Linked DNA regions of Homo sapiens: region 1 is linked to region 2. The links are contacts of gene promoters, found by promoter capture Hi-C in human tissues and cell types (Jung and others, 2019). All regions are on one chromosome and are shown on one strand. The core of a region is centred on a gene start or on the middle of the fragment in contact, and the rest is flanking DNA. Distances in the headings are between cores, read along the strand shown. Region 1 overlaps RNF157 (ring finger protein 157). Region 2 holds the start of WBP2 (WW domain binding protein 2).

Region 1 (6,012 bases), core at 2,649-5,148, 360 kb after region 2:
TGAAACTTACGTTCTAGAGGAGGAGGCAGACAATAAGCAGAGAAAGAGACAAATCAATAAAAGGTTGGTGTTAAGTGCCATGAAGAAAAAAAAAAAAGGTAAGCCCTTGGAAAAGGGTTGCCTAAAGAGGTGACAGGGAGAGATCTGTCCTAGCTTAATTTGTGAGACTCATCCTCTCCCTCACAAGACTCCAGGAGCTCTTCCAGTCCTCTAGCAACAAGAGATCCCATACAACCAAGGAGGCTGCAGTTTGTCTTCTAGTGCATCTCTCTCAACTCAGACCAAGCTACAAACTGCTGAACAAGCAACTGCAAACTTATTTTTGTTACATTTTTTGAATTGGCCACTTAAGCTCCAAGTAGGAGTAAACTGATTACAGCCATACCACAACTGGTCTGTTCCCCAGAAAGTTCAGATCGCTGTTCTCTCCAAACAGGTAACCTTCAGGATGAGTTGAGTCAAACTTCTCTCCTCCCATAATGAAGTGGCTGGCAAAATAGCTTCCTAGAGAGGAACAAACAAAAAAAATCAAACAAGCAGAAAACAGTCAACCTAAATCTAGTAAAAAAAAAAAGCTGATTTTTAAAATGTTAACCTTTTGGGCTGTGCGTGGTGGCTCACACCTGTAATCCCAGCACTTTGGGAGGCTGAGGCAGACAGATCGCCTGAGATAAGGAGTTCGAGACCAGCCTGGCCAACATGGCAAAACCCTGTCTCTACTAAAAATGTAAAAATTAGCCGGGTGTGGTGGCACATGCCTGTAGTCCCAGCTACTCAGGAAGCTGAGGCAGGAGGATGGCTTGAACCCAGGAAACAGAAGTGCAGTGAGCCGAGATCCTAGCACTACACTCCAGTCTGGGCGACAGAGTGAGACTCTGTTTCAAAAAAACAAAAACAAAAAAGTTAACCCTCTGAATGAATAATTAGAGCAATTTCTAATCCCAGAGTGTTTTCTTTTCCTGATTTGGGACAATGGCACAAAATAAGTAAAATCATAGCAGGGAAAACCCCAGATACCAAACGTAGACTAGATCACTGTTTTCCTTTTAACATTCTTAACTGAATTCTTCTAATGATCTGTTTAAAATACCTCCAGCCAAAAGACCAAAAGGTTCTACAATGCACATTAATGATCATATATATTTTTTGGTTCCTGACTTTTGCCTTTAAACTTGAAGTAGTTATTCCATGTATTGAAGAATCTCAGCTACAGGTATCGGCATATACATACACTGTGATATTGTAAAATATATGTTTGATCTTCAACCCTATTTCCTGGAATGCAACTCTTAAAATCCTTGGAATATCCAGGCCGGCATGGTGGCTCATGCCTGTAATCCCAGCACTTTGGGAGGCTGAGGAGGGCGGATCACTTGAGGTCAGGAGTTAGAGACCAGCCTGGCCAACACGGTGAAACCCCATCTCTACTAAAAATACAAAAATTAGCCAGGCATGGTGGCATGCGCCTGAAGTCCCAGGTACTTGGGAGGCTGAGGCAGGAGAATCTCTCGAACCCGGGAGGCAGAGGTTGCAGTAAGCCAAGATCACACCACTACACTCCAGCCTAGGTGACAGAGCAAAACTCCATCTCAAAAAAAAAAAAAAAAAATGCTTGGAATATCCAAAGTGATGTCTTTTTTTTTTGTCTTTACATATGCTAATGAATTAACCACTGCCTGGCAGCCCCTAGGTAGCCTCAGGATGGCGGCTGGTCACTGGAAAGAAAAGGCAGGATTAGAGGGTGGGGACTTTCAGCCCATCCCCCAACCACTGAGGAAGGGAGAGGGGATGAAAGTTAAGTTGATCATCAATGTCCAATGATGTAATCAACCATGCTATGTAATGAAGCTTCTATAAATACCCAAAGGACTGGTTCAGAAAGCTTCCAAACAGGGGAACACTTACAGGTTTCTGGAGGGTAACATGCCCAGAGACGGCATAGAAGCTCTGTGCCCCTTCTCACATAACCTCGCCCTATGTATCTCTCTCTGTATCCTTTGTAATATCCTTGATAATAAACTCGTAAATGTGTTTCTCTAGTTCTGTGAGTCCCTCTAGCAAGTTAATCACACCCAAGGAGGGGGTTATGGGAACCCTGCTTTCTGGTTGGTTAGTTGGAAGCACAGGTAAAACAACCTGGGGCTTGCGATGGGCATCAGAAGTGGGGGGCAGTCTTGTGAGATTGCACCCTCAACCTGTGGGATGGGACACTATCTTCAAGTAGTATCAGAAGTGAAATGAATTGGAGGACACCCAGCTGGTGTCCTCTGCAGAACTGAGTGGTTGCTGGTGGAGAGAATCCCCACACATTTTGCTGACCAGAGGTCACAGAAGTTTTCTGTGCTGCTTGTGTTGTGAGTGTATAGGAGAAACTGAGTTTTTTTCCTATATCCGCAGACGCACACATTTCTTTGCCTAGATTTTCATAAGCCAGCTTATACCTACACACAGAAGTCTCAGTACCCACCCACCACTACTGCTATACCTCCATAACCTTCTATGATGAAGGTTCTTCACACTTTAACTTGCTGCAAACATTATTGTTTCACAGGAAAATACGAATTTAGATAATACAGTTATCCCTGGCTTTCTCTACCAATTACTACACAGACTATGGTGTAAAATAAGGGGACAATTTAATGCTATGAAAGAAGGCTACACACATACCCTCTCCACCTCAAATTCATTAACAGTGCTAATGGCCAGAACTGCTGGGACATCAGTCATGGCAGGGCCCCTTTGCCCCTTCTTAATCAGCCAGGAGGCAGAAATATTTTCAGTGCAATATAATAACCAAATGAAATCAGCAGTCAGGGGCCAAAATTCCCATCAGCCTCATCCGGACAAACCAAGGAACTGTGACAGGATATGATGGAACTGAGAAGTCACCAAAGGAGGCTTAGGTTATGCTGAAAATTACATCTGGGAATACATTTTAAGTTTGATGATTAAACGAATGCCGCTTACCTCTAATTTCTATTATCTAATTCTCCCATGAAGGTAAGCTGTCCAAAGTAAAGGACACATCCCATAATATACCTTTATCAACACTCTCATATACCCCATTTCTGAAATTAACACAAGGAACTTATTAAGTGGCAAAAGGCTTGCTTGTGTATAATACATTGAGGATATACACAAACTCCCTAAATCAGTTGCAATTTTTGTTGAAGATTTGTAGCAGGCAGGGTGTGATGGATCTTGCCTGTAATCCTAAAACTCTGGATGGCTGAGGCAGGAGAATTGCTTTAGGCCAGGAGTTGGAGACCAGCTTGGGCAACTTAGCAAGCTTAGCAAGACCTTGTCTCTACTAAAAACAAAACAAAAAATAAATAAAAATACAAAAATTAGTTGGGCATGGTAGCATGCGTCTGGAGTTCTAGCTACTCAGAAGGCTGACGCAGAAGGGTCGCTTGAGTTCAGGAGTTCAAGGTTGCAGCGAGCTATGATTGCCACTGCACTCCAGCCTGGGTGACAGAGTGAGACCCTCTCTAAGAAAAAAAAAAGAAAGAAAGAAAAAAGAAAAGAAAAGAAAAAAGGAAAAAAAGATTTATAGCAAACTAAAAAAAAAAAAAAAATGAGATTCAGTACTTTGAGCCTGTGGAGAAGCCATAGGAAGGAAGACAGAGAAGAAAATTCTAGCAAAAACTGAACCAAACATTCATTTTTAAAACTTTCTACACAAGGAGCTTTAGTCTAGAAACATCTATTAAATAAAACAATGTGGATAAAATCACTCACCACAAAGTGAGGCAACTATTGAATTAAACAAGCAGGAAAACATTCTTTGAGAGTAATAATGCAACCCAGATCAAAGCAATCACTGAGGAACTACTGAAAGTCACCCATTAAAACTTAAAAAGACAAAGGGCAGCCATCTGATACAGTGATACAACAGCAGAATTCATCATTTAGGAAAGCTTAATTATCAATTATTTATGTCTGGCACTTGCTAGCCCTATTTTCCAAGTGCATAATTTATGGAGAGGGGAGGTACCTAGTTGCCTTAAGTAGAAGCAGCAATCTCAAATAATTTAAGTCATTTACTGATGAACTTCAGCAAGATATATTTTCTATGCATCAGGAATTATACATTTATCATATATTAGGTAAAATTGGAAAAGTTAAAGATGTTACACAGATGGATGGCTTGCCCAAATCATGAAAAAAGAAAGGGAGAGAAGAGAGTTTGATGTCTGGAATTGTCTAGGTTGACCTCAGTGTGGGACCACTGAGTTTCCAGTACCTGTGAGATCTCAGGGGAGGGATCTGGGGCAGTAAAAATCCATGGATGATTGGCTTAGAGGTGGCCATGATTGAACCTAGCGAGAGAGGACCCCTAATGATTTGGGGGCTAAAGAGTTAAAGCAGGCAACAGGGTTCGATTAGAAATGCCCTTTTATGCCATAATATTAAAAGAAAAGAAATGACCACAAAAGATGTGTAGAGCTAATTGTAGTTTTGCCTTGCATTAAAATCAAGAATAGTCTGGGTGTGGTGGCTCACACCTGTAATCCTAGCACTTTGGGAGGCCAAGGTGAGAGGATCACTTGAGCCCAGGAGCTCAAGACCAGCCTAGGCAACATGGTGAGGCTCTGTCTCTGTATATTTAAAAATAATAATAATAATAATACTATGGTATATTCAGTCAGTAGAGTATTATGAAGCCTTTCAAAGTGGTGTTGTAAATCTATATCTACTGACATTAAAAATGTTCACAATATATTATAATTAGACCCTTGTCTCGACAAAAAATTAAAAAATTAGCTGGGTATGATGGCCCAAGCCTGTGGTCCCAGCTACTCAATAGGCTGAGGTGGGAGGATCACTTGAGCCCAGGAGGTCAGGCCTGCAGTGAGCCATGACTGCGCCATTACATTCCAGTCTGGGTAAAAGAGCAAGACCCTGTGTCAAAAAAAAACAAAAACAAAAACAAAAAACAAACAAACAAACAAAAAACCCCATAAAAGCTATATAAGCTGTATACTTATAACTGGGAATGATTTTCTCAAAATTACAAAGTTGGCAAAATTGTTCTTACTTTTACTTAAAATTAGCTTGAACACCTGTTCAATCACTCAATAATTCTTTAGCAATATTAATTTCTAAACTTTTGGTTATTAAGGGGAAGACGCATAAAATGTGCAAGATTGTATGAATTAAAAAGAGCTCCCCAAACCTTCATCTATTTTTTGTTTGTTTTTGTTTTTCTGTAGAGATGGAGTTTCACCATGTTGGCCAGGCTGGTCTCAAACTCCTGGGTCAAGAGACCTGCCCGCCTCAGCCTCCCAAAGTGTTGGGATTACAGGTGTGAGCCACCGAGCCCAGCCATCCTCATCTGTTAAAAGGAAAAATAAATTTACTTATTGGTATTTCATTTTACAACCAAAAATTTGCTTTTTCCTTTCTTTGAAATGAACCCCTCTAGCAGCTTGCTTTCATTTAGACAAATGAGAAAAGCAAATCAGCCTTTTTCAGACTGAATAAAGCTTTCTACTTGCTCAGTCTTTCTAGAGGGACAAATTGGTGCACAGCTATGTATAGCTACTAGATCATCAGATACCAACACCAAACACATCAACAGTCCCCAAACAAGATGACTTTTAGACAGCTTATGCATATTTTTACTTCTTAACACAATGAACTGTGCTTCAAAATCAGTGGTGGGGGAAAAGAACTCTACTAAAGTACTTCTTTGCCTATTTGTTACCAGGAGAAACACGTCACTCACAGATAAACTGCAGAACTCAACTAAAATACACCCTTGCCTATTTGCTAACGGGAAAAAAACATATGTCACTAGTAGATAAACTTCGAGTGTTTCATTATTAGTGAGCTATAATTTATTAATCAAAACTCATATTCAGAATTCTTTGCAGGCTTTAAAAAGTCACATCATACACATATCTCCAAGATTATACGTAAACCGTAAGGTATGAGTGGGAAGGAGAAAGGGGAAATTAATGTTTAACAAGTACATAGTTTTAGTTTTATAAAATAAAAAAGTTCTAG
Region 2 (5,974 bases), core at 1,794-4,293:
TAGCCATGGAAGAAATGAGCAGGTTGGGGGTTCTGTAAAATTTCCCAAACCCCGCTTATAAAGCCCCCAAATGATCAACATGGTAGCAGAGCTACAGGGCTCTGAAGAGGCCATCATCCCTCAAGCAAGTTAGATAATCTGGCTTAACTCTTCTATTTTCTTTATTTTTTTTTTTTTTTTTTGAGACGGAGTCTCACTCTGTCACCCAGGCTGGCGTGCAGTGGCGTGATCTCGGCTCACTGCAAGCTCCGCCTCCTGGGTTCATGCCATTCTCCTGCCTCAGTCTCCCAAGTAGCTGGGACTACAGGCGCCCGCCACCACGACTGGCTAATTTTTTGTATTTTTAGTAGAGACGGGGTTTCACCGTGTTAGCCAGGATGGTCTCGATCTCCTGACTTCGTGATCCACCTGCCTCGGCCTCCCAAAGTGCAGGGATTACAGGCGTGAGCCACTGCGCCCGGCCAACTCTTCTATTTTCTTTTAAGTCCTTGTGATAGATGTTCTGTTTTTGCTGGTTTGTTTTTCAAGCCTAAAATATAAACATGTCTAAGAGATGACTGTACAGATCACAATAGGACGTCCTTCGGGGTTCTTTTAAACCTGGGTTCTTAAGCGGGGTTTGCAGGAAAGTCCATGAAGCCCTTGAGATGATCACGTATGTCATATGTGCATTTTTCTGGGAGGAGAGTCCACAGCTTTCATCATTGTCAAAGGAGTTCACGACTTGAAGAGTAACGTTCACTATTTTAATTATAATTTTTTATTTTTTTGAGACGGAGTTTCACTCTTGTTGCCCAGGCTGCAGTGCAACATAGCGTGATCTCAGCTCACTGCAACCTCCACCTCCTGCGTTCAAGCGATTCTCCTGTCTCAGCCTTCCAAGTAGCTGGGATTACAGGCATGCGCCACCACGCCTGGCTAATTTTTTGTGTTTAGTAGAGACGAGGTTTTACCATGTTGGTCAGGCGGGTTTCAAACTCCTGACCTCAAGTGATCCACCCACCTCAGCCTCCCAAAGTGCTGGGATTACAGGCGTGAGCCACCATGCCCAGCCTAATTATCAAATTTTGGACACTGGACTTAACACTTCAATTGTTATAGATACAACTTTTTCAGACAGCAGGCTGAAGCACTTTCTAAAACAGCAGGCTGAAGGCACACCTTACTTAGCAGGACTGAGCCCTAAGCCAGGTAGAAGGCCGAGCAGGATAGATACATTCTTGTCTCAGAAAGTTCCACAGAGACAGAAAGAAAAACAGTCCCCAGAGATGTTGCCAAATGGCACGAAAAGCTGGCCAGGCCTGGGAACTGACTCACACACAGAGATGCAACAAAACAGTGTGAGGTGTCTCTGATTACATGATAAAAAGGTTCACACGGTTCTGTTTGTCTTCTGCCTCCCCCCATATATCACAACTTTCTCTGACTGGGGAAGGGTAAGTGGGAAACAACTGGTATAAGCAAAGGAAAATGGCTGGGCGCGGTGGCTCACTCCTGTAATCCCAATACTTTGGGAGGCCGAGGAGGGTGGATCACGAGGTCAGGAGTTCGAGACCAGCCTGCCCAACATGGTGAAACCCTATGTCTACTAAAAATACAAAAAATTAGCTGGGTGTAGTGGCGGGTGCCTGTAATGCCAACTACTGGGGAGGCTGAGGCAGGATAATCGCTTGAACCCAGGAGGCGGAGGTTGCAGTGAGCTGAGATCGTGCCACTGCACTCCAGCCTGGGCGACAGAGCAAGCCTCCATCTAAAAAAAAAAAAAAAAAAAAAAAAAAAAGAGAAGAGAAGTACTGCTCAGAGAAAAGAAGGAATTACCAGCAACAGGCTGGGCCCATGAAACTCTGAGCGGGTAAGATAGAGGGAAAGTGAGCATGCTGGGTCACTCTAGGCATTTTCCTCTGACTCATCAAACATTCCCAAGTCACAGGGCAGCTGGATGCTGGCCTTAGCTGGGTACAGGGCTCTGACTCCACGATGTCTCCTTTGGGGACTCAGGTGCCTCCTAAGCTCCTTCTGCCTTCAAGAGGCAATTCAGGGTCGGCATAGTTCAACCCAGGGCTGGCTGGTCTGATTTTCAATACCCAAGGAACAAAAGGAGACAGAGGCCATTTAAGGCTTCTCTTGGCAGAGACTGGAGGAGAGACAGGATGCAATGAGCAAGGGGTGGGGAGGATGGAGTGGAAAGAACCTTGAATTAGGAGAGCTCTGCCTTCCGAGGTGACCCAAACCAACAGGCATTCAAGAGAGAGGCAAGGGAATGACTACGGACCCACACAGTGCCAGGAACTGTTAGACACCTGACAAACGTCATCTGTTTAATTTCACCTCTGGGACCTCAGTTTTTTACCGGGAACCTGAACAGTTCTGGAACATACTGGAAGCCTGTATGCTGGTGGTTAATCCTATTAACTTTGGAGTCAAGACTCCTTTCCTGGAATTACCACCTCTGTTACTTACACAGTTGCGATCTCGGGCAAGTTACTTAACCTTTCTGCCCTCCACTTTCCCTACCTGTGAAATGTGGACAGTAGTAGATTATACTGCACAGAATTTATTAAATAAGGTAGAAAAGGCGCAGAGCCTGACACGTAGTAACGTTGTAGACATCCAATAAGTGACAATTATTTTTGTTTGGGGCTCCTCCCAGCTACTGAAATCACAAGTCTGGGAAGGGGTTCAAGAATCACCCCTAGGCCCCACCGGGGGCCCCATACCAGGTCCCCATGCAGACGTCCCACCCCCGCCTCCCAGCTGATCACAACCTCCCGGGCTCTCCCCCACGGCCCACCCACCTTCCTCCAACCCCGCCCCCAGCCGTTCCCCACCAACCTCACTCCATCAGTGCTCCCTCTTCAGGGGCTTATTCCCCACCACCCACCACCCACCGCCCACTTCCTCGACACCCGAACTTTGGTCCTCCAGGATCCTTCCGCAGTGTTTTCACCTCTCGGTGTTATTGACGATCACTCCGCCGCCCTCCGAGTGATTCTTGTTGAGCGCCATAGTCTCTCCAACAGGGGTCCCGAGACTCAAAACGCAATGAGCTTGCGCCCCTCTTCGCCCCGCCCCTAGTGGCGTCTTCTTATTAGAGTCAGCCAATCAAAGCTCGAGTGCGGAGGCTGGCCCAAACACCTGACCCGAACGTCACGTGGTAATAGTTTACTCCCTCCTTCCAGTTCCTCCTGCGCAACAAACAAGATGAAGACTACAATTCCCAGCAGGCAACGCCCCCGCAGCCTCGGCCTGTCCCTATGCTGGAGGAAGGATGCATTCTGGAACTTGTAGTCTCCTGGATCATAGGCCTGAATTGGTTCCACATTTTGCGTAACCAATCGGCTTGTGCCATCCCCACCCCGCCTCTTCAGCCGGACGGAAATAAACAGTTCCGCTCCTGGCAGGGGCGCGATCTTGGGGACTCCGGCAGCGCGTTAAGGGAAGTCCTGCTGGTCGAATGCGACCTGGACATGGCGTGGGAGCGCCGAGCTGTCCCCTTGTGGATGGGGAGCTTTCGTTCACTCAGCAGACGTTTATGGGGCGCATGCGTGACTCTGGGGCGTTTAGCTGAGCCGGAGGCCCCGGCTCTTGGGGACGCGGTGGGCTGGCGGCGTCGGATCACCCCGCCATCCATCTCACCACTCCCAGCGCTGAGCCCGGGGGGCGGGGAGAGTCCCTCATGGGAAGGGGAGGCCGTGTGCCCCGCCTGGCTCCCACCACGTTCGCAGGCCGGCCGGGCGCCCCTCGCAGCCCCCTCTCCGGCCTCGCGGTGGCGCCGCTCCCCCCTTAGCGCCCAGCGGGGTCCCGGCCGGAAGACTGAAGGCTGAGTGGGACTGGGCACGGCGCGAAACCGGCATCCTGATAACTAGGATTTACAGAATAAGGCTGACTCCTGTCAGCTCGTGACCCAGCCCTGGGCGTCCTCCACGGGGCAGCTGTCATTCCCTAACCGCCCCCCACCAAACCCCTGCACCTCCGAGCTGAATCCGTGAGGCGGAGAGAGGGGGCTGCACTTCCCACGTGGTAGTTCCGGTACTCGTTAATGTTAAGGAATTAGAGTTTGCTTTTCAGTAGACAGCTGCTTTCCTGACTGTGGTGGCCAACCTCTAGATCCACCTGCTTGACTTCGCTTTCCAGGGAGGTCTCCTATGTGAAGAAACAAAGCTGCCTCACTAGAAAAGATCAGGAAACAGCAGCGTTCTGTGAGGTCCTGTGCAATACCAGGTTGGACCTTGCGGGACAAGTACAGTGGGTTAAGGATAGTCATAATGAAATCTGCCCCAATGGTTAGATGTATTTTGGCGCCTGCAATCTCTGCAGTCTTTAAAAAGAATTAAGTCAGACTATGTGCTGATATGGGAAGATCATCAAGGGTTATTAAGCACAGAATGCTGTATACATATAGTTGTATTTGTATAAAAAATAGGATCTAGATAGAAAATTTTTGCAAAGATCCATCAGAAAATGTCTGTGGCATTTTTGAGACATGGGTCTAGGAATTTGGGGTGGATTGGTGACTCGGTATGTCAGTATGCATTGTACTCTTTGGTACTGTTTAATTTTTTTTTCCTATGTGCGTTTAAAATATAAATTTAGGCCGGGCGCGTGGCTCACGCCTGTAATCCCAGCACTCTGGGAGGCCGAGGCGGGCGGATCACGAGGTCAGGAGATCGAGACCATCCTGGCTAACAGAGTGAAACCCCTTATTAAAAATACAAAAAAAAAAAAAAAATTAGCCGGACGTGGTGGCGGGCGGCTGTAGTCCCAGCTACTTGGGAGGCTGAGGCAGGAGAATGGCGTGAACCCGGGAGGCAGAGCTTGCAGTGATCTGAGATTGCGCCACTGCACTCCAGCCTGGGTGACAGAGTGAGACTCCATCTCAAAATAAAATAAAATAAAAATAAATAAATAATATGTAAATTTAAAAAAGAAAAGCAGGCCGGGGTTTGTGGCTCACGCCAAAGGCGTGAGCCAAATTCCAGCACTTTGGGAGGCCAAGGCAGGTGGATCACCTGAGGTCAGGAGTTCAAGACCAGCCTGGCCAACATGGTGAAACTCCATCTCTACTAAAAATACAAAAATTAGCCGGGCATGGTGGCGGGCACCTGTAATCCCAGCTACTCGGGAGGCTGAGGCAGGAGAATCGCTTGAACCTGGGAGGCAGATGTTACAGTGAGCCAAGATCATGCCACTGCATTCCAGCCTAGGCGACAGAGCAAGACTCCATCTCAGAAAAAAGAAAAAGAAAAGCAAAATCCAGGCCTGGTGCCGTGCCTGTAATCCCAGCACTTTGGGAGGCCAAGGTGGGTGGATCACTTGAGGCCAGGAGTTTGAGACCAGCCTGGACTACATGGCAAAATCCCATCTCTATAAAAATACAAAAATTAGGCCGGGCGCGGTGGCTCACACCTGTAATCCCAGCACTTTGGGAGGCCAAGGTCGGCGGATTACCTGAGGTCAGGAGTTCAAGACCAGCTGGCTAACATGGAGAAACCCCGTTTCTACTAAAAAATACCAAAAACTAGCCGGGTGTGGTGTTGTGCGCCTGTAAGCGCCTGTAATCCGCGCGCCTGTAATCCCAACTACTCGGGAGGCTGCGGCAGGAGAATCCCTTGAACCTGGGAGGTGGAGGTTGCAGTGAGCCGAGATCACGCCATTGCACTCCAGCTTGGGCAACAAGAGCAAAACTCCATCCCAAAAAAAAAAAAAAAAACGCAAAAATACAAAAATTAGTTGTGCATGGTGGCGTGGTTCCTGTAATCCCAGCTAATAGGGAGGCTGAGACATGAGAATTGTTTGAACCTGAGAGGCGAAGGTTTCAGTGAGCCAAGATCGTCCCAGTGCACTCCAGCCTGGGCAACAAAGGAAGATTCTGTCTCAAAGAAAAGAAAAAGAAAAAAAGGAAAATCCCCCCAGCAAAGAGCAGGCAGCATTGGCTGCTCTAAGGACCATAAATGGGAAGATGGGGACAACCTGC

What was found. The method cuts DNA at HindIII sites, captures the fragments that hold promoters and counts their contacts. A contact is called where the count stands out against the background at its distance.
Region 1: a fragment that was not itself captured here is called in contact with the fragment with the promoter of WBP2 in region 2 in 1 of the 25 tissues and cell types used here (dorsolateral prefrontal cortex).

What each region holds. Positions count from the first base shown.
Region 1 is chr17:76,211,979-76,217,990 of GRCh38, forward strand. RNF157 (ring finger protein 157) reads right to left here. Exons shown (of 19, transcript NM_052916.3): 2 at 386-504. Among named protein-coding and RNA genes, the nearest start is that of RNF157, 26 kb to the right of the region's middle. The HindIII fragment of the contact is 4,066 bases long and covers 1,866-5,931 here.
Region 2 is chr17:75,852,292-75,858,265 of GRCh38, forward strand. It overlaps WBP2 (WW domain binding protein 2), which reads right to left and starts at 3,044. Exons shown (of 8, transcript NM_012478.4): 1 at 2,948-3,044. The coding sequence starts at 3,006. RefSeq lists enhancers at 3,130-3,259, 3,868-4,663 and a silencer at 3,630-3,799. The HindIII fragment of the contact is 6,498 bases long and covers 1-5,974 here.